Regions from separate parts of the Homo sapiens genome. Here all the other regions are linked to region 1. Evidence: promoter capture Hi-C in human tissues and cell types (Jung and others, 2019). All regions are on one chromosome and are shown on one strand. Each heading gives the region's core, a stretch centred on a gene start or on the middle of the fragment in contact. The rest is flanking DNA. Distances are from core to core; before and after follow the strand shown. Region 1 holds the start of TMED4 (transmembrane p24 trafficking protein 4). Region 2 holds the start of LOC105375262 (a long non-coding RNA gene). Region 3 holds the start of CAMK2B (calcium/calmodulin dependent protein kinase II beta).

Region 1 (4,819 bases), core at 787-3,286:
TTTGCTGGGTGCAGTGGCTCACGCCTGTAATCCCAACACTTTGGGAGGCTGCGGCAGTGGATTGCCTGAGGCCAGGAGTTCAAGACCAGCCTGGCCAACATGGTGAAACCCAGTCTCTACTAAAAACACAAAAATGAGCCACGCATGGTGGCACTTGCCTGTAATCCCAGCTACTTGGGAGGCTGAGGCAGGAGAATCGCTTGAACCTGGGAGGCGGAGGGTGCAGTGAGCCGAGATGGCGCCACTGCGCTCCAGCCTGGGCAACAGAGCGAGACTCCATCTCAAAAACAAAACAAAATAAGTACAGATTTTTAGTTTGAGAAGATGAAAAAGTTCTGGAGCTGGATGATGGTGTTGGTAGCACAACATTATGAAGGCACTTAATACCACTGAACTATATAGACAGTTAAAATGACACATTTGGTGTTATATTTTACCACAATAAAATGTTTTGATAAAAAAGCAAAACAGGCAGGGCGCGGTAGCTCACACCTGTAATCCCAGCACTTTGGGAGGCTGAGGCGGGCGGATCACTTGATGTCGGGAGTTCGAGACCAGCCTGACCAACGTGGAGAAACCCCCGTCTCTACTAAAAGTACAAAATTAGCCAGGCATGGTGGCGCATGCCTGTAATCCCAGCTACTCAGGAGGCTGAGGCAGGAGAATCGCTTGAACCTGGGGAGGCGGAGGTTGCAGTGAGCCAAGATCATGGCATTGCACTCCAGCATGGGCAACAAGAGTGAAACTCCGTCTCAAAAACAACAAACAAACAACCTATCTAAACCAATACTTCTCATTCCATTCTCTGCAGAGCTGATCTCCCAAGCAGAAACTTGAGTAGGTATAGTGGGTATAAAGGTCAACTGCCCTCTCAAATTACAAGGAGATATGCACTTGCCCTTTGGTAATCCTGCTCCTTCTGAATCTGTTCCACCTGATCAAGCAACTGGCGGGCGCGGAGCTGTAGCTCCGTCAGCTTATCTTTTGCAGCAATCTCAGGGTAGTTGTTGGCATGCTCCCCAACCTGGATGTCGAGATGCACCCGCTACAAGGAAACATGGAATGTATGAGTGGTGGGGCCTCCAGTTGTCTGTTCCAGGGTATGGAACCCACTATTGTCCCTGGCTGTGGAGCAGAAGGCAACATCTGTCTCCCCAATTCTGACTGTGCTACAAAGTTTCACAATCTTGATAAATCAAAATTTGGAAACAAGTGAGAGATTCTAAGCTGAAGCCAAAGAGAAAATCCTCTTACCAGTTTGCCACCAGCGAAGAGAGCCATCCTGGTAGAATTGGAGTGCAGACAGATTTGATGGTCACCGGGCGTGTGGGAGGTGAACGTGAAGCGGCCCTCCGAGCCGTACTGCCGGGACAGCACCACCTGCAACATATGTGAGTGAAGGCCCCACCTTTATACCGCAGGCTCTCCAAGTGCAAGTTCCTGTCCCTTGAGGCCTCCTCCAGGCAGTGCTTTACACCCCACGGGAGCTCCACTGAAGAACGGCTGCGTGGGCCAACGCCAGCCTTACCTTGCCGTCGGGGTCCTTCACTTCCACGTGCATGCCCAGGCCAGGGGTCGAGGGCAGGAAGACCTCCTTCTGCTTATCCCACATCTGGGTACGATAGTTGCCTGCGGGGCAGACACATAGTCACGACCGGCCCTAGTGGGCCGCCTCTCCGCCCGGCCCCCTCCGACGTGCGGCCCGGAGCTCTAGGCAGGGGGCCTGGCGTCCTCGGGGCACCCTCAGGCTAGGTACTGGGGGAGCCAGCGACCCGGCTGGGCTCGGGAGGAGGGAGCGCCGCCGAGGGCTGAGCTGGGTACAAAGGGCCTCCCCACCCTCAGCCCGCCTGACCGATGACCATGGTCTCGTCGGGGATTTCCTCGATGAAACAGCGCTTCTCGGTCTCGCCGATGTGGAAGTAGAGCCCCTGGGCGCCTGTGGCGCACAGCGCGAGAAGCAGCAGGGCCTGCCGCCCCATCGCCCGCAGAGGCCCAGCCCCGACACCTGCCATCGCGCCTCAGCCCCTAAGCGCCTGCGCACATTTGCGCATCGCTCTGCGCCTGCGCGCCACCCTAGCGACCCTGAGAGTTAGGGGAAGAGGACGCCTGCGCAGTGATATGTACTCGCCGTCTCCTGCAACTCCATCCGTACCGAACACTGCCGCGCCCCGCCCCCTCACACAGCCCGGCGCCCGCCTACCCCCGCAACGAGAGTAGAGGGCGCATGCGCAATGACGTTCGCCCTTAATTTCTCGCCCCTTACCCCGCAGCTTACCTCCGGCATCTCGCAGGGGAGGCACGCCTGCGCAGTCACGCCCGCCCTCGGCCCCAGTCAGCGATTTGGGTCTCGGAGCACCAAGGAGACGGTGGACGGAATCTGACCAGGCTTGGTGGCTACGATGGCCTGAAGCGTGCCTTTTGGGTTCTCAGCTCGGGCTCACAAGTGTTTTCTGTGCTAAATACAAAAAGCCCTGTGATGTTTTGCTTTGCGTGTCCACCTATCTGACTCGTAAGAACCGAGGCTGAATCCAGACCCACACTCTGTCACGTCGGGAGAGCCTGCCGCGGCGAGCCTCTGCGAGCGGGCATTTCTTGGGTGGGGACCAAAAGCCCAGTGCTGCCATAGTTTCGGATCATTCTTTTAAGAAGCTGGGGCCGGGCGCGGTGGCTGGCACCTGTAATCCCAGCACTCTGGGAGGCTGAGGCGGGCGGATCCCTTGAGCCCAGGAGTTCGGGACCAGCCTGGGCAACATGGTGAAACCCCCGTCTCTACAAAAAATTAACCGGTGTGGTGGTGTGCGCATGTAGTCCCAGCTACTTGGGAGGCTGAGGCAGGAGAATCGCTTGAACCCAGGAGGTCGAGGATGCATTAAGCAGTGATCGCGCTCCAGCCTGGGCGACCGAGGGTGATACCTTGTCTTAAAAAAAAGGTGGGAGAGTGGAACGAAAACTTGGAATAAGTAGGGTCATGGAGCTTGTTTACATCCCCTAGTTACAGCACATCCTTTTGAAAGTGAAAAACAAACTGGAATGTTACTTAGTGGGCATGGAATCGAAGCAACGGAAGGTTAAAACTGTTTTTATCAAGGCCAGGCGGGCGCGGTGGCTCACGCCTGTAATGCTAACACTTTGGGCGGCCAAGGCTGGTGGATCATCTGAGGTTAGAAATTCGAGACCAGTTGGGCCAACAAGGTGAAACCCCCGTCTCTACTAAAAATACATTTTATCAACAGAATTTCGAAACTTTTATATAATAGAATAATTACAATGAACTTTCATAAAGAACTTGAGCATACCTGGATTTTGGTATCCGTAGGGGTCCAGGAATTATCCCCCTTGGATAATAACGGAGGGCTGTACTCATCATCCAACTTCAACAACAGTTTGCTGCCTTTCTCATTTCATGTATCCCTTTCTGCATTTTTTTTTGAAGTGCTGTATATTAAAGCAAATCCTGGACATCATGTCATTTCACCTATAAATACGTCAGTGTGTGTCTCTAACAGATAAGGACTTTATACTATTATCACACCCACCAAAATTTTAAAAATTATTTAACATCACTTAATACCTAGTATGTGTTTAATTTTCCCCATTGCCTTAAAAAATTTTGTACATTAGATATTTAGGGTCCAAACAAGGTTTACTTACTGCATTTCATACAAATATATGTCTCTTAATATATAACAATTTTGGCTGGGCACAGTGGCTCATGCCTGTAATCCCAGCACTTTGGGAGGCTGAGGTGGAAGGATCACTTGAGGTCAGGAGTTTGAGACCAGCCTGGCCAACATGGTGAAACCCTGTTTCTACTAAAAATACAAAAATTAGCCAGGTGTGGTGGTGCACACCTGTAATCTCAGCTACTTGGGAGGCTGAGGCAGGAGAATTGCTAGAATCAGGGAGGTGGAGGTTGCAGTGGGCTGAGATGATGCCACTGTACTCCAGCCTAGGCAACAGAGTGAGATTCTATCTCAAAACAAACAAAAACAGGGCCGGGCGCAGTGGCTCACACCTGTAATCCCAGCACTTTGGGAGGCCAAGGTGGGCAGATCACGAGGTCAGGAGTTCGAGACCAGCCTGGCCAATATGGTGAAACCCTACCTCTACCAAAAATACAAAAATTAGCTGGGTGTGGTGGTGCTCACCTGTAGTCCCAGCTACTTGGGAGACTGAGGCAGAAGAATCGCTTGAACCCAGGAGGCAGAGGTTGCAGTGAGCCGAGATCATGCCACTGCACTCCAGCCTGGGTGAGAGAGAGACTCGTGTCCAAAAAAAAAAAAACAAACCATATAACAACATATATATATATTATACATATTATATATATATTATATATATAAATTTCCCCTCTCTTTTTGTTGTTTGTTATTCATGGCATTTACTTATTGAAGAAACTGGGTCATTTGACCAACAGAATTTTCCACTTTCTGGGTTTTGCTGATTGTATCTTCAGGTGTCATTTAACGTTTTTTGTCCCTGGTATGTCCTGTAATCACAGTTAATTCTAGAGTCAGGGGAGGTTTACAGTGAAACTAATGAAGCTTAATCTTCAGGCCCTCCCTTGCATAGACCCCCGTACCTAATTTCGCATTTATAATTTTGTGTCTTTTTCTTAAAGAGGACTGTGAAATTTGTATAGTTTAAGGCCCCACAAAGCTTGGATTTGCCCCTGGCTAGAAGCTTCATTAGGTTTAGGTGTAATGTTGAGGTTTGGGTTTTTTTGTTTTGTTTTGTTTGCAATAACGCTTCGTGGCTGGCACTATGTACTTCTACTGAGGCACAAGGCGGGTTTGTCTCTTAGTAATATTGTAATTCA
Region 2 (4,819 bases), core at 2,320-4,819, 320 kb after region 1:
ATTGTCAGATTTTTAATTATTGCCAGTGGAATGAATGAAAAGTACTATCTCTTATCTTGGTTTACATTTCCCTGATTACTGAGGAGGCCAAGCATCCCTCTGAGTGCCTGTTGGCTGTATGTGTTCCCCCTTTGGTGAAATGCCTCTTCATGTCTTTTGCCCATTTAAAAAAATAGGGCTAGGAATTCTGTACCTGTTCTTTTTTTTTTGAGTCGGAGTCTCGCTCTGTCGCCCAGGCTGGAGTGCAGTGGCGCGATCTTGGCTCACTGCAACCTCCGCCTCTGGGGTTCAAGCAATCCTCCTGCCTCAGCCTCCCGAGCAGCTGGGACTACAGGCACCCACTACCACGCGCGGCTAATTTTTTGTATTTTTAGTAGAGATGGGGTTTCACCATGTTAGCCAGGATGGTCTCGATCTGCTGACCTCGTGATCCACCCACCTTAGCCTCCCGAAGAGCTGGGATTACAGGCATGAGCCACTGTGCCCGGCCACATGTTCTTTAAATATTTTTTTAATTAAAAGTTTGTTGGCTGGGCGTGGTGCTCATGCCTGTAATCCCAGCACTTTGGGAGGCCAAGGCGGATGGATCACCTGAGGTCAGGAGTTCGAGACCAGCCTGACCAACATGGAGAAACTCCGCCTCTACTAAAAATACAAAATTAGCCGGGCATAGGGGCACATGCCTGTAATCCAAGCTACTAGGGAGGCTGAGGCAGGAGAATTGCTTGAACCTGGGAGGTAGAGGTTGCGGTGAGCCGAGATCGTGCCATTGCACTCCAGCCTGGGCAACAAGAGCAAAACTCCGTCTCAAAAAAAAAATTTTGTTTTGTTTTGTTTTGTTTTGTTTGAGACAGAGCCTCCCTCTGTCACCCAGGCTGGAGTGCAATAGTGCGATCTCAGCTCACTGCAACCTCTGCCTCCTGGGTTCAAATGAATCTCTTGCCTCAGCCTCCCAAGTAGTTGGGATTATAGGCATGCGCCACCATGCCCGACTGATTTTTGTATTTTTAATAGAGACGGGGTTCCGCTGTGTTGACCGGGCTGGTCTCAAACTCTTGGCCTCAAGTGATCCAACTGCCTCTAATTTTTAATTTTTTGAGGACAGAGTTTTACTCCGTCACCCAGGCTGGAGTGCAGTGGTGTAATTACAGCACTGCAGCCTTGAACTCCTGGGCTCAAGTGATCTTCCTGCCTTAGCCTCCTGAGTAGTTGGGACTACATGCATGTGTCACCATGCCTGGCTAATTTTTATTTTTATTTTTAAATTAAATTAAATTTTATTTTATTTTGAGACAGAGTATTGCTTTGTCGCCCAGGCTAGAGTGCAGTGGTGCGATCTCGGCTCACTGCAACTTCCACCTCCTGGGTTCAAGTGATTCTCCTGCCTCAGCCTCCTGAGTAGCTGGGATTACAGGTGCCCACCACCACACCCAGCTAATTTTTGTATTTTTAGTAGAGATGGGGTTTTACCATGTTGGTCAGGCTGGTCTGGAACTCCCGACCTCAGGTGATCCACCCACCTTGGCCTCCCATAGTGCTGGGATTACAGACGTGAGCCACCATGCCCAAGCCTAATTTTTATTTTTTAATTTTTTGTAGAGACAAGGTGCCCAGTTGCCCAGGTTGGTCTTGAACTCCTGGACTCAAGTGATCCTCCTGCCTTGGCCTCCCAAAGTGTTAGGATTACAGGTGTGGGCCACCTCACCCTGCCTGTACCTGTTATTAGTGCAATCATTTGTTGATTATGTCTTCTCTTATTTGTAGCTTATCTTTTATTTCCTTTAGACTATTATTTAAAAACATTCTTTAAACATTTTTTAATTGTAGTAAGAACACAATGTATCTACCCTCTTAACAGATTTTTAAGTGCATAATACTGTATTGTTAACTATAGGGAAAATGTACAGAAGATCTCTAGGGCTTTATATGCATTGATTAGCAATTCCCCTTTTTCCCCTGCCCCTAGCCCCTGGTAACCACATTGTAATGGCTTATTTCACTTAGCATAATGTTCTCAAGGTTCATCCGTGTTGCTGCATATTGTAGAATTTCCTTTCTTTTTAATATGTCATTGGATTTACACACCACATTTCCTTTGTCCTTTCATCCATCAATGGACATTTAGGTTATTTCCACAGCTTAGCGATTGTGACTAGTATTGCTATGAACAGTGAGTGCAGACATCTCTTCAAGATCCTGATTTCAATTCTTTTGGATAAATACCCAGCAGTGGGATTGCCAGATCATATGGTAGTTCTGTTTTTAATTTTTTGAGGAGAGGTCAAAGCAGGTGTATCTCTTGAGCCTGGGAGTTCAAGACCAGCCTGGGCAACATGGCAAAACTCCGACTCTACAAAAAATACATGCACACCTGTAGTCTCAGCTACTTGGGGGGCTGAGATGGGACGGTCAGTTGAGGCCAGGAATTCGAGACCAGCCTGGGCAACATGGTGAAACTCTGTCTCTACTAAAAATACAAAAATTAGTCTTGGCAGGTGCCTATAATCCCAGCTACTGGGAGGCTGAGGTGGGAGGATCACTTGAGCCCAGGAGGCAGAGGTTGCAGTGAGCAGAGATCATGTCATTGCACTCCAGCTTGGACGACAGAGCGAGACTCTGCTTAAAAAAAAAAAAATTTTTTTTTGAGGAACCAAACCTCCATACTGTTTCTATAGAAACTGCATGAGGCTCTTCAGGATATTCTTAATAACAGCCTATTAATTTACCAATATATCACAAAGGATGTACAGTGTATCACTGAATTCCCGGTTCTCGTCTCAGAATCACCCAGTGAATCTGTCACATTCTGATTTAATTACCTGGGATGAAGCTGGGGCATTGCTATGTTGCAAAAGTTCTCCAATTGAGTCTAATGTGCAGCTGGAGTGGAGAACCATGAACCACTTCTAGCTGTTGAGAGGCTCCTCAATTTGAGTAAGAAATAAAGAAAATGTGTATTTATTAAGACAGCACTCAGGCAGTTTCAGCAAGGTGGACGGGGAGTGGAGCATGAGCATGGGAAACCTTCCAGCATCGAATCAACTGTGTAGAAGCTGAGAAGGATGCACCTGCAGGTGGGAGCTGGGAGGTAGGCCCTGGGTCCCGGTGACTCTTTGGTGTAGTTTACAGCTGAGCAGTTCCCGCCTGCTTCTCAGCAAAGGTCCCTTATGCATCTCTCATGTGCTTCTCCCACTCATCTTGCAAGACTCTGAAGTGTGAGTGCCATCTTTTCAGTTAAGTGAGCAGTATATGGAAACTTTCTCATGGGAAAGAACCGCATGTGGCGCACCCTGGACGTCACTCCTTGGCTGGTCCTGGATGCCCACCTCACCCCACCACACTCATGCCCCTCCCAGGAGGCGCCTTCTTGACAGTGTGGTCCTTCCTGGCTGACAATGACTTGGGTTTTCGTCGCCTCAGTTCCTGGCAGAGCTGTTCCCGTGCCCCGGTGCCACTGTGTGCACCTGCTTTAATCACCTCCCACTGCAGCTTCTGTCCTGCCACCCCTTGGGCTTCCTGATCTTTCCTTCATGCTTGCCCTTGAGCATCTTATGGCCTCTTTGAGCTTTCACTGTTTCTGCAATGGGGCCATTTCCATATCGACAGCTCTAGTGTTTCTGTCACTACTGGATTCTCCCATTCGCTTTGTGATGCATCATGGCTCTAGCTACACATCCTGCCTCTGTCTCAGACTCCATGTGTCTGTGACCAGCCCCCTGACTCCCTCCAGCCACTCACCCTGGCTGTCCCCACCATCAGGGGCCTGGCCACACCATCTGCTGCTGAGCTGCAGGACATGGCTGATCAGAAATGGAGCACAACAGTCAGGGGCAGAGCCCATTGACCAAAGCCTTGAATATACCATGATTTCCAAGATGTGTCTTGCTCTTCTGTCTTCAGAGTACAAAAAGGTAAACTCCTCTCAGGCAAGGATTCTACTTTCTCTCTTTTTGATAAATTAGCAGCATAGTTATTTTCCTGCTTGCTAGGTTAGATAAGCAGTGAGATCTGTCACCTCTTTGTCCTCCTCTGGTTGAATTGCTTCTTTAATTCAAGTTTTAGTTTAGGAGGTAGAACTTTTTTTTTTTGTTTTTTTGAGACATGGTCTCATTCTGTCGCCCAGGCTGGAGTGCAGTGACACGACTACAGTCCACTGCAGCTTCTACCTCCCGGGCTCAAGTGATCCTCTCACCTCAGCCTTCTGAGTAGCTAGGACCACAGGTGCACACTACCATTCCTGGCTAACTTTTTTATTTTTTATTTTGTAGAGAGGGGGTTTCCCAGACTGGTTTCAAACTCCTGTGCTCAAGCAATCTTCCCACCTTGGCCTCTGAAAGTGCTGGAATTATAGGCACAAGCCACTGCACTCGGCCAAATATTTTTAAGGTATATTTTATTAAAACCTTACTAAAATATTACAGAAAATTTCCGTTGTTTTTTTTTTTTTTTTTTTGAGATGGAGTTTTGCTCTTGTTGCCCAGGCTGGAGTGCAGTGGCTCAATCTCGGCTCACTGCAACCTCCACCTCCTGGGTTCAAGCAATTCTCCTGCCTTAGCCTCCTAAGTAGCTGGAAATACAGGCACCCACCACCATGCCTGGCTAATTTTTGTATTTTTAGTAGAGACGGGGTTTCACCATTTTGGCCAGGCTGGTCTCGAACTCATGACCTGAAATGATCTGCCTGCCTTGGCCTCCCAAAATGCTGGGATCACAGGCGTGAGCCACTGCACCTAGCCAGACAATTTTAAGTGAACAAAATTTCATACACAATCTTACCATCCTAGTGCACCTGTTGTCTTCATTTTTGTTTTTTCTGGTT
Region 3 (4,819 bases), core at 1,413-3,912, 260 kb before region 1:
CAACACCAACTGTGCCCTGGGCAGGCACTGTCAACAACCAGCCAGCATAACAACCAAGGGACCCCAGCGCTGCAAATGGGCTGAGTGCCCACAACTGAGCCCTGGCCTCAGACATCCCCCTTAGGTGCCCTGCTCTGCCCTCCCAGCTCCCTGGCCCACCTCTATGGCACGGCTGCACCCCCGAGGAATCGGTCCCTTCCCTACCCAAGAGCCGCCACAGCAGGGCAGTGGTAGGCCCTTGGCGTCGCCAGGGACCCGGCGCCTAGCAGGGCTCCACAAAGGTGCACTAGGCTGAGCTGCCTGCTCCTGGCTTGGGCATCTCCTCTTGTCCCAGGTCATGGGGCTCCCCTCGATGCCAGGCCCCACTCCTCACCTCGCAATGCATGGCTCCCAGTGCTTTCGCTCAGGAGGCCACACTCGCTCCTTTCCAGCAGCAGCTCATTCTCTGGCTTGACAGAGAAGCCCAGCAGTCTTAGCCCCACCTGGTCTCCACCTCTGGAGCCACCTCTCTCAACCTTCCCCAGGCAGCCCCAAAGACCTCCATTCCCCAGTGTGGGTGGCACTGGCCAGGACATCCAGCTGCGCTGGAATCGGAGGCTCAGCGGGGAGCTGGCCACCCGGACACTGCCGCTGGACGCAGGGAGGCTCGCAGCAAAGGGAAGAAGGAACAGCCAGAGTGAGCTGCAGTCTGAGGACACTGGGTGCACATGGGGAGGTCTTGAAAGTGGCTTCTTTGGAGAAGACCAGGGACACCTGCTGTGAGGGCCTCTGTGCTTCTGAGCGCAAGCAGAAAAGACAACAAGAAGGCTCCTGAGGAAAGACTGACTTCCCACTGTTGCTCTCTTCCTCAGAGAACCAGGCACATTAACTGCCACCCACCTGCCCCTCCAGTGGCCAGGACACCTCTGGAGGCCAAGAGGACAGACGGGGGTAGATCGGTGCATCTGAGGGGTGAAGACCGGGGAGCCAGCCACCCACTCAGGGATCCGCATGAAGGGGGCTGGGCTCGCCCTCTCCCTCGAGGTCTCAGCCCTGTGGTGCTCTCCAGATCCACCCAAGGAAGGGTCCCCCAGCCAGCCTGGCCCCCCACCCCACCCATCCAGCATGGGCTTCTTGCAGGGCTGGGCTCCACATCCCTAACCCCTACCAGAATTCTCTCCACACGTGCAGGGAGAAGTGGGGAATGAACACACCCCCACACTCCTCCAGCTCCGCACTCCACAATTATCAATGATCAGCGTCCCTCACCCACCACAAGGTTTCACCAGACACTTATTTAGTAAAGGAAAAAAAGGATCTGTTGCTGGATGTGTAAGAGGAAATCTCGCCAGCACCGCCAGCGCCCCCACCGCCTGCACTGAAGGGACGGAGGAGGATGGGGGAGGACGCAGGAGGATGGGGCTCTGGCCCAGTCAGGCTGGAGATTCAGGAGTTCTGAAGCTAGCCCTAGGGATGCCAGGTGCAGCCACCTTGATTCTCAGAACGGGAGACCCCAGGCCAGACAGGAGGCCCCTGAGGCGCTCCCCATCTCACCCCAGGGGCAAAGCCGGGTCCGGGGACCACGAACCAGACCTTCGCCCTACACTGCTCATACTGCCAAGGAGAGAACGGGAGCCACAGCACCTGTTCCCCGTGAGGTCCCACTTCAAACAAACCTTCAAAGCCCCTTCCCCTTTAGGGCGCCCCCGCCAACAGTCCAAAATCCAGCCCCCATCCACCTCGATGACCCTGAAATTTGCAATCCAGTCAGGCTCTTAGTCTCTCCCCGCTATCCCCATGACCTGATCCAGGCTCCCTGACCTCGTCCTCCCCACACCTCCAAATTCCTGTTTCCAGAAGAATCTGGGGGAAAATCCTCCAGAACCCAGATTCCCCAGGGGACCTACAGCAGAGGCTCTCCCACGCCGGCACCCCCAGCGCGGATGGGGCCACGCGCAGGAGCAGGCGCAAGCAGGTCCCGCCACCCCCGCCGCCTGCCGCTCGGGTGGGGGTGGGGACAGCGCACCCGCGTCGGGGACGACCCTCTGGGGCCGCAGCCGACCCCTCCCGGCGCTCCAGGCCCGGGGGCCACCCCCGCGCGCCCCTCCTCTCTGACCTCCCCGCCGCCAAATGCGTCACGTCTGCCGGGCGCTCCGGGGACACCTGCTGCCGCCCCCGCCGCGCCAAGTCGCGAGCCCGGAGCCCCGGCCCGGCAGCCGCGCTGGGCAGAGCTGGGCAGGGCCGCGCGCGCTGAGGTCAGGCAGCCAGGCCCGGGGCCGGGGGCTCGCGGGTCGGGGCCGCGCGGGGCCGTGCGCTTGGGCCCGGAGCCCAGAGAAGCCGGCGGCGCGCGGGCCCGCAGTGCGCCTGGAGCCGGCGGCGCGGAGGGTCCCGGAGGTCCCGGCCCTCTGGGGTCCCCGGCCCAGCCCGCGCGCGCCGCTGCTCTTACTTGCCAATATCCTCGTAGAGCTGGTACTCGTCGGTGAAGCGGGTGCAGGTCACCGTGGTGGCCATGGCGGCGGCGGACGGGCTCGGCGTGCGCTCGGCTGCGCTCGGGCGGCGGCGACTCCGGCTCCCGCTCGCGGGCACGGCGGCGACACGGGCGCGGGCGCGGGAGACACCTCGGCTCGCGGCGCCAGGCGGGGGCCGGGCTGGGCTGCGCCGGGCGGCGAGCGCACGCGAGATCTGCTCGCTCCGTCCTCGCCAGGAGCGCGCCGCACACCTACGCGCGGGGAGGCGCGGGCGCCGCTGTCACCGCCGCCGCCGCCGCGCCCGCCCCGCCCGCCGCCCCCTGCACGCGCCTTCCCCGCGCCCTGCACACGCTGCTCCTGCACCCGCACCCGCAGGGCACCGGCGCCCTGCATCTGCACACGCGCCCTGCACACACACCCTTGCCCCGCACCCGCAACGCACCTGCACCTGCACCTGCACTCACACGCGCGCCCGCCCCCGCCCGCCCCCGCACCCCACACACACACCCGCGCCCTGTACTGACGCCTTCATCCTCTACCCGCACCACGCCCGCACCTCGCGCACGCAGGCCACTTGCTGCTGCCGACCCCTCGCTCTCACATAACACAGAAGAGTGCACATAATGAACGCAGCCTCCTCTCTCTCTCTCGAAGGCCCACCTAGCCTGACAGCAGGAGGGGACTGGGGCCCACATGGAGGTAGAGGGCTCATGTGCTGCCCTCCACAGGACTCATTCCTCACACCCTCAGGAAGAGATGCTGCCAGATCCCTTCTGCCCAGTCTCCATCAGCCACACATGCCCCAAAGGCTGCCTGGCCAGGAGGAACCGCCCAGAAGGCAGTGTACACACTGGGTCACTAGCATGAGAAAGTGAAAGGGTGGGGCCTGCCCCCTCCCCTTGGCCCCAGCCCCTCCCTTCCCCCTCACTTCTCCAAAGACTGGTTGCTGGGTTGTCTGGAATGGAGGTCCCAGGAGGCAACATTCGGAGTCCAGACCAACGGACCCTGAGCCAGGGGAACAGGGGCTGCTCCACCAGCAATTTGGGGGGCCTGAGAGCTCACAGCCACCCTGATCAGGTAAAGGTGCACATTCTCTCCTTTTCCAGCACGGTCCACCTGCCTGCCCCCTGCTTTTGCCTGGAGGAGGAGGGCCCACACACCCCAACCCCCTCCTGAAAGCAGCCAAGGAGGAGGAGAGTGCAGGGAGGCAGGCAGGAGGCAGGGCGACCCGGTTTCCCACAAAACAGCCTTCCCTGAGGCCTGGCACCAGGGCTGCTGTCCAGAACCGGGACTTTAGACCACTGGGCTCCAGCATCCCCACACTCTTCTCTGACGGGGTCCATCCTGGGCAGGCTCTGAGGAGGGGGTTTCCAGCAGCCAGCTCTGGATTTGGGTCACGCTGCTGCCCTGATATGACTTCCTTACTGCTCCCCAAGGACCAATTCTGGGCCTATCCTGCTCATCCCTCTCACCTCGTGGCCAGCCCAGGGCAAGCCCCAGAAGCCACAATAAATGTCATGTGGATAAGGGAGGGGATAAAGGCATTCTGAGTGCTGGCAGCCAGGGCCCTTCTGGGCCAGGATGCATTTGGCATGGGACTGCTGGGCAATTAGTAGACCACACGGCAACAAGTCCCTGCCATCGACCCACCTGCACCCAGAAGACACTAGAGGACGAGAAATTCTCAGGCCAAAGGCAAATGCTGGGCCACCTGGGGAAGTCCCCAGCTGAGGAAGCAGAGGGATCCTGGCCTTGACTTCAGCAGGACCATAGCAGGAAGGGAGACCCCGTCTATGTCAGACTTGGACTCAGAGAATCCTGGGCCATCCTAACAGACAGACTGGCATGGGCTCGAGAAAGGACTGGAGGCCAAGTCTGAGGTTTGTTCTTGGCGTTGTGTTTAACCCCACAGGAGTTTCTTCCAGCACCTGCTGGATGCATCCATATTTTCCCTTTCTGAGCTCTGGAAAGACGAGGTAGGGCCACACAACAGAATACAAATAACAAGCCAAGCACGGTGGCTCACGCCTGTAACAAGCTCACAGTGGCTCACAGCCCCAGCTATGTGGGCCAGGCTGGTCTCAAACTCCTGACCTCAGGTGATCCACCCACCTCGGCCTCCCAAAGTGCTAGGATTACAGGCATGAGCCACTGCACCCGGCCGAGGTCACCTTTCAAAAGTTGAGAAGCTGCCCAGGACCAGGGTTACACAAGAATGTGGGGTCACTAAGAGATGCAATTTGAGATTCATTGTATCCTATACTTCTTCCCGCCTTTTGTACCTGTTAGCACCTGGGACCCCCAGGCAGTCCCTCCTCCGAGCTGAAATATTAGAGGTATGAAGCAGAGCTACCCTGGCGAGCGCAGGAAGG

Evidence for each region. The method cuts DNA at HindIII sites, captures the fragments that hold promoters and counts their contacts. A contact is called where the count stands out against the background at its distance.
Region 2: a fragment that was not itself captured here is called in contact with the fragment with the promoter of TMED4 in region 1 in 1 of the 25 tissues and cell types used here (H1 embryonic stem cells).
Region 3: a contact is called between the fragment with the promoter of CAMK2B here and the fragment with the promoter of TMED4 in region 1, in 1 of the 25 tissues and cell types used here (heart right ventricle).

Annotation. Positions count from the first base shown.
Region 1 is chr7:44,580,195-44,585,013 of GRCh38, forward strand. TMED4 (transmembrane p24 trafficking protein 4) reads right to left here and starts at 2,037. Exons shown (of 5, transcript NM_182547.4): 1 at 1,853-2,037; 2 at 1,529-1,629; 3 at 1,255-1,380; 4 at 899-1,045. The coding sequence starts at 2,012. RefSeq lists silencers at 1,661-1,760, 2,161-2,320 and an enhancer at 2,411-2,520. The HindIII fragment of the contact is 5,448 bases long and covers 1-4,819 here.
Region 2 is chr7:44,902,082-44,906,900 of GRCh38, forward strand. LOC105375262 (a long non-coding RNA gene) reads left to right here and starts at 2,620. Exons shown (of 2, transcript XR_927228.2): 1 at 2,620-3,911. The HindIII fragment of the contact is 4,847 bases long and covers 1,147-4,819 here.
Region 3 is chr7:44,322,932-44,327,750 of GRCh38, forward strand. It overlaps CAMK2B (calcium/calmodulin dependent protein kinase II beta), which reads right to left and starts at 2,663. Exons shown (of 24, transcript NM_001220.5): 1 at 2,426-2,663. The coding sequence starts at 2,490. The HindIII fragment of the contact is 12,993 bases long and covers 517-4,819 here.